2 separate regions of the Homo sapiens genome follow, and region 2 is linked to region 1. Evidence: promoter capture Hi-C in 16 types of primary human blood cells and fetal thymus (Javierre and others, 2016). All regions are on one chromosome and are shown on one strand. Each heading gives the region's core, a stretch centred on a gene start or on the middle of the fragment in contact. The rest is flanking DNA. Distances are from core to core; before and after follow the strand shown.

Evidence for each region. Contacts are between HindIII fragments. The CHiCAGO score rates a contact against its expected background, and 5 or more counts as called.
Region 2: a fragment that was not itself captured here is called in contact with the fragment with the promoter of CDK16 in region 1 in 10 of 17 cell types (total B cells, monocytes, megakaryocytes and 7 more); the score reaches 12.5 in total B cells.

The regions. Positions count from the first base shown.
Region 1 is chrX:47,215,706-47,221,927 of GRCh38, forward strand. It overlaps CDK16 (cyclin dependent kinase 16), which reads left to right and starts at 2,976. Exons shown (of 16, transcript NM_006201.5): 1 at 2,976-3,400. It overlaps LOC105373194 (a long non-coding RNA gene), which reads right to left and starts at 2,945. Exons shown (of 3, transcript XR_949047.4): 1 at 2,798-2,945; 2 at 1,301-1,429. RefSeq lists silencers at 2,310-2,419, 3,120-3,279, 3,300-3,409, 3,420-3,489 and enhancers at 2,610-2,729, 2,850-2,919, 3,063-3,702. The HindIII fragment of the contact is 18,663 bases long and covers 870-6,222 here.
Region 2 is chrX:47,535,021-47,542,133 of GRCh38, forward strand. No RefSeq gene overlaps it. Among named protein-coding and RNA genes, the nearest start is that of ARAF, 23 kb to the right of the region's middle. RefSeq lists an enhancer at 6,170-6,464. The HindIII fragment of the contact is 159 bases long and covers 4,232-4,390 here.

The DNA.
Region 1 (6,222 bases), core at 1,726-4,225:
GCCCCAGGTCTGCCTGTATTCCCCTTGAGGATCTTCAGCCTCCTACTTTGGAGAAGACAGCTGGCTGTGGGGACTGAGGGGTGTTCATCGCTTAGAGCAGGTAGCAGGAGGCCTAACACCAGCCCCACCGGGACTGCAGAGTTACCGTGCTCTGTCCTTGGTCTTGGCTGAGTGCTCCAGACAATTGAAAGCACCAGTCTGGCCACTGCTACATCTTTGCCTTCTTCTATTGTACTGGCTCCTGGTGCCTGAGGAGTCCATTCATACTTCTGTTCCTCAACTAACCAATAATTTATCTACCTTACTTAGAAACAAGATCCCTCACTCTTCTACTCAAACCTGAGTGTAAGGAATAGCTCAACCTGTTCTGAACTGGCTTGATTCCCATCACAGCCTGTGCCCACATCTGCTGCCTCCTGGGCCAGTAGTTCCTGGTCCTGGGCACAGTATATGCCCTTGTCCACCTCCTTCTGATCATTTTATTTTCTTGGCCTGCTCTGCTTGGGTGACCTTATCCTTCCACAGTTTCTTCTTCCCCACTAGGACGTTGAGGACAGAGGCATTTTCCCTTTGGTATCTAGTGGTGATACTGTCAAAGGGAAAGTTTTTCCCACCACAGGAACTTTCCCATTATTGCTCTAGAGTACCCTAGACACTCCACACCGCAGTCCACTGGCCACACCACTACAGCAGCTGAGGCTTGAACACAACTGTTGTCTTCTTTCTCCAGTATGCCAGCTCCTTTGCGGATACTCTATAGACACCTTGTTCACTGCACCTCCCCCATTACGGCTCCATGTCTTCCCCACCACAACTCCTGGATCTCCTTGACACCTTATTCGTGCCTGACACCCTTCTCCATCAAAACAAGCTTTTGAGTCATGCATGAATCCTGGTTGCATCTTAGTTGTTCCCCCTCCACCTCATTCCATTTTACTTCTGCGGTTTGTCTACCAGTCTACCATTGTTAACACCAGCCAGATGGGAGATCAGGGCTTAGCAGGCGGGGGTTGCGTCATTGCACCGAGCCCCCTGCACCCAGCAGCCACAAAGGATAGGGTGGGACAAAGGTTTCTCTTGTCACTGCCTGGAACTATTTGCCCACCTCCTTCTGATCATTTTATTTTCTTGGCCTGCTCTGGCAGGCATTCAACAAACATTTGTTGTGTGCTGTGTGCCAGTCACTTTCTAGGCACGTGAGACAGCAGTGGATAAAACAAAGATCCCTGTCCTCTTGGGGTTTTACGTTCTGCTAGGTTGACACCCAGAATAGATTATAAACACAGTAAGCAAATTGTACCTTAGAAGTTGATCAGTGCTCTTCAAAAGGCGAGGAATAGAGCCCGATCTGGGGATCTGGAATGATGGCAGTGCAGGTAGGAATTTTTAAATCGGAAAGGCTTCATGGAGATGACTTTGAAGCAAGCACCTGGAAGAAGTGAGAGAATGAGGCACGTGGATGTGGGCCAGCAGCATTCCAGGCAAAGGGAACCACAGCAAATGCAAAACCCCTGAGGCTGGATTGTGCCCGTTTCACTCAAACAGCTAGAAAGAGCGCTAGTATGGTGGCAGTGAGTCAGGGGAAGAAGAGGAAGAGATGAGGTCAGAGAAGTGATGAGCCTGTTCTATGCCAAGGCGAGGACTTTTATCTTTGTCAAATATTTCCACTCCCATCATGGCCCGGGAAATCTCACTAATGTAAACCTTACTGAAAATCCTAACTGCTGTGATCAAGGCTGCCATAAAGGGAAGCCCGGAAGAGGCGGGGAGGCTGCCTTGGAACAGGGTAGTGTAAGGATGTGCCAGAAGGCCTGCTGGAGGTTGCAGCCCTTTGAGCTGGACTTGGGGATAGTGTGGTTTTCCAGGCAGAAGGAAGTGAAGGATTAGGTCGGCCTGGTAGTACTTGGCACACAACATGCGCCCAATAAATAAAATGGAAATAAAACCGCGGAGTGTTCTACTTGTGTTGACTGACATCAAAACAAAACAAAAAACCCTCAGAGTGAGGGGAGGCACGGGAGGGGCTGTGCCGGGCAAGAGAGGTGGCAGGAAAATCCAACGCACGGCGCCTATGCAAATACTCGTGTGAGGCAGAAAAGAGGCTCCGCCCCGCTCGAAGTTCCAAGCATGCGCAGTAGCGGCTCCTGCGCCTCTAAGGATCCGCCTCTTTCCTTCTTTCTCAGCCTGGGTTCCACCCCGGGAGGCCCGCTGTATGAGATGGAGGGCGGGCTAAAGGCGGGACGAGACTCGATTGAGCGCAATTATGACCAATCACCTTGCGGAATATTCGGCCTATAGCGAAGGAGGAGCTCAGAACAAAAAGGAGACCCCACCCCCGCCGACGGTGAAAACCTATGAAACCTGGGCGGAGGCGTGCGGAGTCGGGTAGAGAGCGAAATCACGCCTCTTCAGTCAGCCACGCCCTTTATTCTTGCTCGGCCTCGCCACAGAGAGCAAATCAGATTGGCTGGGCGACAACCTCAAAGGGCGGGGCTGCACACGTTCACTACGGGAATGAGGTAGCGGTGGAGGGGGCAGTTGGGCGGGGATAGGCCGTCCTAGCTAAGGTGGTAAAGGCCAATAACTCTTCAGGCTGCCTCTCCTCGAAAAGTCATCTTCTCGCGAACCTTTAAAATGCCTTCCTCCCCAAGCACCTCAAGGGACTAGAACTGAGTGCTTCATTTGTCTTTTTTCCTCCTTGCAAAAGTCCCGTTTGCCACCATGGGGATGTACCAAGTGAGACCGAGTAGGGGGAACGAGTGGTGATTGACGCGCCAGGTTACTGGCCACTGCTCACCTAGGCGCTAGCAAACTTCTGCCAAGATCGGAACTGAGTACTAAACAGCCTCCACAGTTCTCCCTGGTGCCGTCTCCGGCTTGGCGCCGCATCCTCCTCTGGGCTCGCGATGGCCGCGTCCCCTCCCGCTGCGGACGGGTCCTTTGGTACATGCAGTCCGAGGTGAGTCCCCTCCTTTCCACTTCACCCTTCCGAGCGCCTGCGTGCGCATGCGCGGAGCGCGGCGCGCGCGGCGGTTGGGCCGTTGGCTGTTCGGCCCTGGGATCCGCCGCCACTCCGCGATCAGACCGCTCTGTGCCGCGAGCCGCCGTGAGCACTCGGATTCAAGCCGGCGCCAACGAGTCCGGGGGCATCGCCCGCAGCGGCCAAGCTCATGGCCGGCTGAGCGGGACGCCGCCTCCGCCTCAGCCACCGCCGCCGCCGCCGCCTCCTCCTCCTCAGCCGGCGGCGGCCCGGGCCCAGCAACCATGGCTGAAGACTACTGGGACGGGCGCCTGCGGCGAACAGGAGGAGAAGGAGGTCGCGCGGCCTCATCCCGGGCCGCCGCCCCAGGCGCCGCCGCGCCGGCCCCGCGGCTCTGAGGTTGCTCGCGCGCCCCCGCCGGTGAGCGCGTCCCCGAGGCGTGGAGGCTGCCCCTCCTCCTTCAGAACCCACCTCGGGCGGTGCCCAGGGGTCTGGGCTGCGGGGCTGGCAGGTGCCCCCACCCCCGGCGAATTTCCCAGAATGCACCGGGGCGGGGGGTCATTTGGGGCCTCCCTGACCTTGGCCCCGCCCTGGGCCTGTCCTGGGAGCTGGGGTTGGGTAGTGCTGTGGGTGCTAATGGGGACCTGGGGGAGTCAAAGGACCAAAGGGTGTGGAAATGGGTGACAATGGGGTGAAAGACTTGGGGGGGTTGCTGATGGGGGTCGGAGCATGTGGCAGTAAGCCTCACGCCAATAAGTCGTGTAAGGTTCAAGGCCCCGTGTGTGCTTGTGGAAGGAGGGCGGGGTGCGGAGCGGGTGAGGGACCCGAGGGTGTATAACGGGGGGTAGGGTGTCGAGGAAGTTCTAAGACATGCTCATAGGGATTATGTCCGCAGAGAGGCCCGGTGTGTGTTCATGGGGGACAGGGTGGCACAGGTACCAGAACGTGTGTTGGTGGGGTCAGGGCTCTGAGGCCTGGTGCGTGGCGATGAGGCCCTGGATGGTGTTAATACTGCGTGTCTGTCCGTGGGGCCTGCAGTGTGTGAGAATGCAGTGTGTGCTTGTGGAGGGCAGGTAGCTGAAGGACTCGAGTGTGGTGTGTGCGCCAGTGGGGGTCATGGCTGTAGAGGGTGTATGCCTGTGGCCTCGAAGGTCTAGGTAGTTTGGGACCCAGTATATGCTAATGAGGGCAGAGTGGAGGAAGGACCTGAGGGTATCTAACGGAGGAAGGACTGTGGAATACCTGAGCCTGGCCTAAAGGAGATGAGAATTGCGTGTCTGTCTGGGCCCAGGAAGGAGTGGTGGGGAAGTGTCTTAGCACTGTCAGAGGCTTAGTGGACGAAGGGTAAAGGTGATGTGAGGTGTGAGTGTGTCCATGGACACAGGGAATGTGAGTCTCGAGGGCACACTAGGAAGGAGCAGGGTAATAGAAGTACTGGTGGTTGCTAATGTGGGTTTAGAGACATAGAGGCACTTCAATGTGTGCCATTTCGAGAGTCAGCTGTGTGAAGTCTGGAATATGCTAATAAGCATCAGAACCTTGTGAAGATTGTGCCCTTGTGTCCGCGGAGGACCAGAGTATGTTGAGGTTCCAGGGGGTGCTACTCGGGGGTAGGGCTGCGGAGGGGATCTAGTGTGTAATAAGGGGGATCAGGGCTTTCATGAAGGGATCTAAGTGTGAACCAACAAGGATTATATCTGTGGAGATATCTCTGAGCAGAGAGCAATAGAGGACAGGAATGTGTGATGATCTCGGTGTGCTAAAGTGGATTACAGCTAGGGAGGGCTGAAGTGTGTGCTAATGGGAGTCAGGGCTGAATGAGACCTGTGTGCACTAATGAGGGTCAGGCCATGGTAGAACAGTGTGTTTGTGTGTCCCTGCGGAATAGGGCTGAGTAAGGGTTCAGGGTGCACTAATGGGGAGGCAGGACTGTGTGAGGCCCGGCGTGTGCTAATAGAAATCAGGCCTGAGTGAAGACTCAGTTTGTGCTGACAGAGGGGACAGGACAGTGGAAGGACTGGAATGTGTGTTAAGGATGGTCGTAGCTGTGAAGGGGCCTGAGTGTGGGTAACACTGGTTAGAGATCTATCTGTAAGGTTCACTTTATGTTAATAGCATTCAGAGCAGCATGAAGAAGGTCCAGTGAGTGCTAATGTGGGTCAGCTATAGAGTACCCCAAGTGCATGTTAATAGAGGTCAGAATCATGTAGGGGGAACAGTACGTTAATGAGGGGAGTCAGTACTATGGAGAAGGTAACAAGCAGCTAGGCCAGGGAGGGGCCCAAGAATGTGGTGGCAAGAGTTACTTAGAGGAGGCTAAGTGTGTGCTGACAGAGTTCAGGGCGGTATGTTATGTGTTAGGGCTTTGAATGCTGATGGGTATATGAGATAATAGCAGGTAAGATGTAGTGAGGCCTCCTTGAGGGTCTAGCGTGTATTAATGGGGATCAGGACATAGGGTGCGATGACCAAGTCCTTAGTGGTTGGTGTGTTGAGTATCCTTGAGTATGAGAGTAGTCTGAGGATGGGTGTATGTCTTTGGGGATCAGGAAGGGTCAGGCAGGACATGTGCCTTTTTTGGGGTAAGGTTTTATGTCCAGTTTCTTGCTCCCTCCTTTTTTGAAATCTAAAAAGCTCATTCAACTGAAATGATATTTAAAAGTTTCCTTGCGTATAAATGTTCAATTATCTCTGTTCACAGGGGCATGTCTGAGACCCCCATCCCCCTTTCTGGGAGTGTTATGTGATATACAGATTTTACACCCCATCTTCCTAAAATCCCAAAAAACTGAACTCCAGAGCATGTCCAGCCCTTGGGGTTTCCAGTTAGAGGTCGTGGACCCATGGCTCCTCCTGGCTTCCTCCCCATCCTCCATTCAGCCCTACTTCCAGTCTCCCCCAGCCCCTCCCCTACTCCCTGTCACAACATGCAAAGCAACTGGGTATCTGTGCCATATGGGGACACAAGGTTGTCTTTGGGAGCTGGCCATGCTTTACCTTCCTTGCCTTAGGCCCAGTATTCAGCCTCCCAGGTCAGGATGTTTTGTGGTTATCCTGGGTTCTCCATGGATGGACCTCATCCTGTATCTGAGGTCTTTCTGCTAGGGTGGCCCCTACCCCTCCTGGGGATAGTGAGTTCAGCCAGGTGGGGGCGAGAACTGCTGGGGGAAGCACCTGATTTCAAGGTAGCAGATGACCCATTTCTCTCCTCAAATCCAGCCCCAGTCTCATCCTCGACCTCC
Region 2 (7,113 bases), core at 3,061-5,560, 320 kb after region 1:
GTTAGACACAGGGTCTCACTCTGTCACCTAGGCTGGAGTGCAGTGGCATGATCACAACTCACTGTAGCCTTGACCTCCTGGACTCAGATGATCCTCCCACCTCATCCTCCCAAATAGCTGGGACTACAGGCGTTCAGCAGCACACCTGGCTATTTTAAAAAAATTTTTGGTAGAGATGGGGTCTTGCTATGTTGTCCAGGTTACCAACTGAGTCTCACTCTGTCGTCCAGCCTGGAGTGCAGTGACATGATCATGGCTCACTGCAGCCTCGACCTCCAGGACTCAGGTGATCCTCCCACCTCAGCCTCCCAAGTTGCTGGTACTACATGCACACACGACCGTGCCTGGCTGATTTTTGTATTTATTGTAGAGACAGGGTTTTGCCATGTTGCCCGGGCTGGGCTGCCAACCGATTCTTTACAAAGGGGCAAAAGCAGTTCAGTGGAACAAACAATGCTGGAGCCATAGGACATCCAATAGCAAAAACAAACAAACAAAAACCAAAAAAGGAACCTGGACCTAAATCACACTTAGTACAAAAATTAACTCCAAATGGATGGATCATTGACTTAAATGTGAAGTGTAAAACTATAATGCTTCTAGGGAAAAACCTAGGACTATATATTTGGGATTAAGACTAGGCAAAAAGAATTCAGAAGATAAAAACCACAATTCATAAACGGGAAATTTGATCATTAGAAACTTTTGCTCTGTGAAAAGACAAGCTATAGGCTGCGAGAAAATATTTGTAAATGACATATTCGACAAAAGGCTAGTATCTACAATATAAAAAGAACTCTCAAAACTCAACAGTAAAGAAGCAAACAATCCCTTTAGAAAATTGGCAAAAGATGCGAAGAGACATTTCACTGAATGGGATGTACAGATGGCAAATATCCACATGAAAAGATGTTCAATATCACTCGCCATTAAGAAAATGCAAATTAGGCCAAGTGTGGTGGCTCACGCCTGTAATCCCATCACTATGGGAGGCTGACGTGGGCAGATCACCTGAGCTCAGGAGTTCGAGACCAGTCTGGCCAACATAGTAAAACCCTGTATTTTTTTTCTACTAAAAATAGAAAAATTAGCCCGGCGTGGTGGTGCGCACCTGTAGTCCCAGCTACTGGGGAAGCTGGGGCAGGAGAATTGCTTGAGCCCAACAGGCAGAGGTTGTAGTGAGCCGAGATTGCACCACTGCACTCCAGCCTGGGCGACAAAGTGAGACTCCATCTCAAAAAAAAAAAAAAAAAAAGAAAGAAAGAAAGAAAGAAAAAGAAAAGAAAATACAAATTAAAACCACAATCAGCTATCAGTCATGAATATCAGAATGGCTAAAATTAAAAAAAAAAAAACAGTGACAATACGAGATGCTGGCCAGGATGCAGAGAAAACGGATCACTCATGCATGGCAGGTGGGAATGTAAAATGATCCAGACAGTCTGGTAGCTTCTTACAAACTAAACATGCAATTACCATATAACCTAGCAATTGCACTCTTGGGCAGTTATCCTAGAGAAATGAAAACCTATATTCACATAAAAACCTGTACATTAATGTTCATAGCAGCTATGTTAGAAATAATGAAAGACTGGAAACAACCCAGACATTCTTCAATAGGTGGATGGTTAAACAAACCATGGTACATCCATACTGTGGAATACTATTCAACAAGAAAAAGGAATAAGATGGGCTGGGCGCAGTGGCTCATGCCTGTTATCTCAGCACCTTGGGAGGCTGAGGTAGGTGGATCACTTGAGCCCAGGAGTTCGAGACCAGCCTGGGCAACATGGCAAAACCCCGTCTCTACAAAAAATACAAAAATTACCCTGGTGTGGTGGTTTGCACCTGTAGTCCCAGCTATCTGGGAGGTTGATTGAGGTGGGAGGATCACTTGAGCCCGGGAGGGGGAGGTTGCAGTGAGCCGTGATCGTGCCACTACACTCCAGCCTGAGTGACAGAGTGAGACCCTGTTTCAAAAAAAGAAGAAAAAAAAAGGTACAAGATGTTGATACATGCAGCAACTTGGATGAATCTCCAGGGAACTATGCTGAGTGAAAAAAGTCAAATCCAACAGTTCACATATTGTATAATTCAAGTTCTATAACAGTCGTGAAATGACAACATTCTAGAGATAGAGAACAGATTAGTGTCAGGGATTAGGAACCTGGAGGGGATACACGGCAGGCACTAGTGTAGCAGGTGTGGTTGCGAAAGGGCAGCAGGAGACATCCCGGGGTTGTGTCAATGGCCACATCCTGGTTGTGATATTGTGCTGTTATTCTGGAAGGTGTCACCATTGGAGGAAACTGGGTGAAGGGCACATAGGATCTCTCTGTATTATTCTTGCAATTGCATGGGAATTGACACTGATCTCAAAATCAAAGTTTAATTTTTAAAAATGTGCAGCTCACCTAGGATGATTGTATAACTGGTTTAGACCATGGCTACATAGAATTAACCAGAGAGTGGTGAGAACAAGGTGGGGCAGGAAGGAATCTTCTGGACACAGAAGAGAACAACAAGCAAGAACGTGGTGGTGGGAGCCACACTGCCTGGGTTAGAATCTTGGCTCTGGCCCACACTCGTGCTGTGTTCCTGGCTAAGTTACTGCCTTCCTCCAAGCCTGTCTCCTTATCTGTGAAATGTAGGTGAGTTCATATGTGGAGTCGCTTAGGGCAGCACTTGATACAGAGCTAGCACTCAAGGGTTTGTTATTCTTTCTATCATTTCACCTAGGAAGGATGTGCTCAACTGGAAATGCTAGGTGGACTTACAGTAACACCGTAAAATCCATCATGTGAATGTTTAGCTCATGAGAATTTCACTCTTCATGCTCTGGGGTAACTAACATATATTCTACATACTCACTTGTATGACTATTCAGATCTGCTGCAGTACTTCATTCTTCTCCATCGCTATCCCAATTTATGTGATGAAAAGAATATAAATTTTTTAAAATAAAAAATAACCTATAACTCATAGAATAAAATAGGGAACCATGAGTCCATACTGATATAAATAAATGAATACATTGAAAATTTGATGAGGAACAGAATGTTTACAAGATCTCAAAGTGCCTTTCCGCAAACTACTGATTTTTTAAAATAATTTAATATATTTTATTTAATCCATTATATCCAAAATGTTATCATTTCACCATGTAATCAATATAAAAAGTTGAGATAAGGCTGGGCGCAGTGGCTCACATGTGTAATCCCAGCACTTTGGGAGGCCGAGGCAGGCGGATCACCTGAGGTCAGGAGTTTGAGACTGGCCTGACCAACATGGTGAAATCCTGTCTCTACTAAAACTACAAAGAAAAACCGGCCAGGTGCTGTGGCTCATGCCTGTAATCCCAGTACTTTGGGAGGCCAAGGCGGGCGGATCATGAGGTTAAGAGATCGAGACCATCCTGGCCAACATGGTGAAACCCCGTCTCTATTAAAAGTATAAACATTAGCTGGGTGTGGTGGCGGGCACCTGTAGTCTCAGCTACTCGGGAGGCTGAGGCAGGAGAATCGCTTGAACCTGGGAGGCGGAGGTTACAGTGAGCCGAGATCACGCCATTGCACTCCAGCCTGGGCATCTTTAAAAAAAAAGTGCAAATATTTATTTTTACTTATTTACTTACAAATTTTTCTTTAGAGATGGGGTGATATAGTTTGAATATATGTCCTTGCCAAAGCTCATGTTGAATTGTAATCCTCAATGTTTGAGGTAGGGCCTGGTGGGAGGTGATTGGGTCATGGGGGCAGATCCTTCATGGCTTGGTGCTGTCCTCGCTATAGTGAGTGGGTTCACTTCACGAGATATTTGGTTGTTTAAAGTGTGTGGCACCTCCCCACCCTTTGCTCTCGCTCTGCCATGTGAGATACCTGTTCCCACTTTGGCTTCCGTCATGAGTAAAAGCTCCTTGAGGCCTCCCCAGGCTCCTTCCTGTACAGTCCTGTATAAAACTGTGAGCCAATTAAGCCTCTTTTCTTTATAAATTACCCGGTCTCAGGTATTTCTTTATAGCAATGCAAGACTGACCTAATTCACGGACAGGGTCTCCCTCTGTTGCCCAGGCTGGCGTAGTGGCTTGATCTCGGCTCATTGCAACCTCTGCCTCCCAGGTTCAAGCAGTCCTCCTACCTCAGCCTCTGGAGTAGCTGAGATTACAGGTGCTAGCCATCATGCCCAGTTAAGTGCAATATTTAAAGGGTTCTGAAAATTTTCTTCCTTTGAAAGCTTTCACTAACTGAGAACTTCAAAGTGCTATTTTCCTGAGAAATTCAAATAACTTTCAATTATTTCTAGGGTCCCCTAGCAGTTACTTGGGGAAATAAAAAAGAAAATTCAATGTCTATCTTACTCCTCATGCCAAAATAAATTTCATCTGGATAGAAGCTTTGAATGTAAAACAAAAAAAATAAATAAATAAAAAATAAAACCAATCAACAAACTTGGGAGTATTACGTTAAAACTAGGGGAAAAAAAATATATATATATATATTTGGAAACGGAGTCTCGCTCTGTCGCCCAGGCTGGAGTGCAGTGGCTCAAGCTCGGCTCACTGCAACTTTGGCCTCTTGAGTTCAAGCAATTCTCCTGCCTAAGCCTCCCAAGTAGCTGGGACTACAGGTGCCCACCACCACGCCTGACTAATTTTTTTTTTTTGTATTTTTAGTAGAGATGTGGTTTCACCATGTCGCCCAGGATGGTCTCATACTCCTGAGCTCAGGCAATCCACCTGCCTTGGCCTCCCAAAGTGCCAGGATTACAGGCATGAGCCACCACGCCCAGCCAGGGAAAATATTTTTATAATTGACAAATTAGAAGTCACGAAAAAAAAGCAATGAATTAGGCCCCCCAAAATTTTAATTCTTTGCATGTGCTTTGGAACATTTTGCTGATCTTATACCAAGATAATTTTTTTAAGGAAAATGAGATCAGTGAGTACTTACTGCTCTGCAAGCTATTTTTATTCACTTGGCAGTAAAATAATGGCATCTTTCCAAGTGAGTGCATTTGTTTTAATGGATGTATTAGTATCTCATTATATAAAAGTCTATATTTAGATATTACCCTCTTCTCTTTTGTTAATATCTTAACTAACTAGGTTATATGAGGAGCAAAGAATGAGCCTACACCCAGCACCTAAACCAATGGTTTCATGACATTCTCTGCTCCAACATGTGGCTAGAGACAAGTGATTCTGAGAAGAAAACTGCCAAATCACAGAACAAGTTTACACTACTCCAGGTGGATAGGAAGTTTAATATTTAAAAAAAAAAACAGGCTGGGTGCGGTGGCTCATGGGTGTATCCCAGCACTTTGGGAGACCAAGGACAGAAGATGACTTGAGCCCAGGAGTCTGGGACCAGCCTGGGCAACATAGGGAGATCCTCGTCTTTACAAAGATAATAAAAAATATTAGCCAGGCATGGTGGTGCACGCCTGTAGTCCCAGCTACTGGTGGGGGAGCTGAGGTGGTGGTGGGGCTGCAGTTGGTGGGGGGGATGATGAGGTGAGAGGATGGCTTGAGCCTGTGAGTTCAAGCCTGCAGTGAGCTATGATAGCGCCACTGCACTCCAGTCTAGGTGACAGAGCGAGATCTTGTCCCAAAATAATAATAATAATAATAATAAAAACAAATAAAAAACAAAAGTTCATTTAGATTTTGAAGATAATAAACGTATGAATATTTAAAATTACACAGTTTTGCTTTCCAGAGTGATGATAAAAGTGTACCATTTGAGTCACTAACTCTTTTTTTTCTTTTTAAGAGAGTCTCGCTCTGTCTAGCAGGATGCAGTGCAGTGGCACGATCTCAGCTCACTAAAACCTCCGCCTCCAGGGTTCAAGCAATTCTCTTACCTCTCAACCTCTCGAGTAGCTGGTATGACTGGTGTGCACCACCACCCACCTCAGCCTCACACAGTGCTGGGATTACAGGCGTGAGCCACTGTGCCCGGCCCATTTTAGTCATTAACTTTTAAAAATAAACTTCACACAGCAGTACATCTCAGATGTTTATAACAAAAAGGAGGGTGGATGTGTGTGTGGGGGGTGAGCTTTCTAATTTGACCACGTCAATATTGTATCTGCCAAGCAGTTTCCAACTTGTATCAAGTCAAATGAGTACTTAGTTGTTTTCTTTAGTTCTTAGAATATTTCCCCTACATTCTCCATGGCTCGGTTCTTTCCAGAAAATTCCCTGGATGGAATTTTCCACATAGCCCAGCAGAGGGCCCTGTATTCTGAGCCACAGTCAGGCATACACAGAAGACACTGCAGACACCAATCAGCAAATCAGGAACGAGAATTCCTCTCCTCCCACACTCCAGCCAAAGGGCTCTCAGGTTCCAGTTGCAGCCGGTCAGCTAACAACTGACGGTGTCTGCACTTCCTTTTAGTCTAGGCGGCGGTAGAAATGGTTTCTAAGAATACCCAGTGGCTCTGGAAAACATTTCCATCATGTGAATGAGCCTGCGCGTATTTTATATTACAGCTTTTATTCCCCTCAGATTCCTATTCTCATTTTAAAATGTATTTAAAAGATATAGAGACATATAAAGCCTTCAGAGGAAAATGCATTAAAAAGGAATATATCACAATGGTAAACCATGATTACTACTAAAGAGATTATGGCTTATTTCACTCCATTCTTTAATTTCCCAGATTTTACACCATTATCGTGTTTCTTTTATTTTGAATATTCTCTTTTCAGAAAGAGAAAATATAGTTTGAAAAAGCGGCTGGGTGTGGTGGCTCATGCCTTTAATCCCAGCACTTTGGGAGGCCAAGGTGGGTGGATTATTTGAGGTCAGGAGTTCGGGACCAGCCTGGCCAACATGGTGAAACCCTCTCTCTACAAAAATACGAAACTTAGCTGGGTGTGGTGTCGGGCGCCTGTAATCCCAGCTACTCGGGAGGCTGAGGAACGAAAATTGCTTGAACCCGGGAGGCGGTGGTTGCAGTGAGCCGAGATCGCGCCACTGCACTCCAGTCTGTCTCAAAACAAACAAACAAACAACAACAAAAAGGCAAGAGACAGGAAGTAAATATATGCCCATCAAAAAGATTAAAAACACTTGGAGCAATTTTTAAAAATCTGTATTAAAAGAA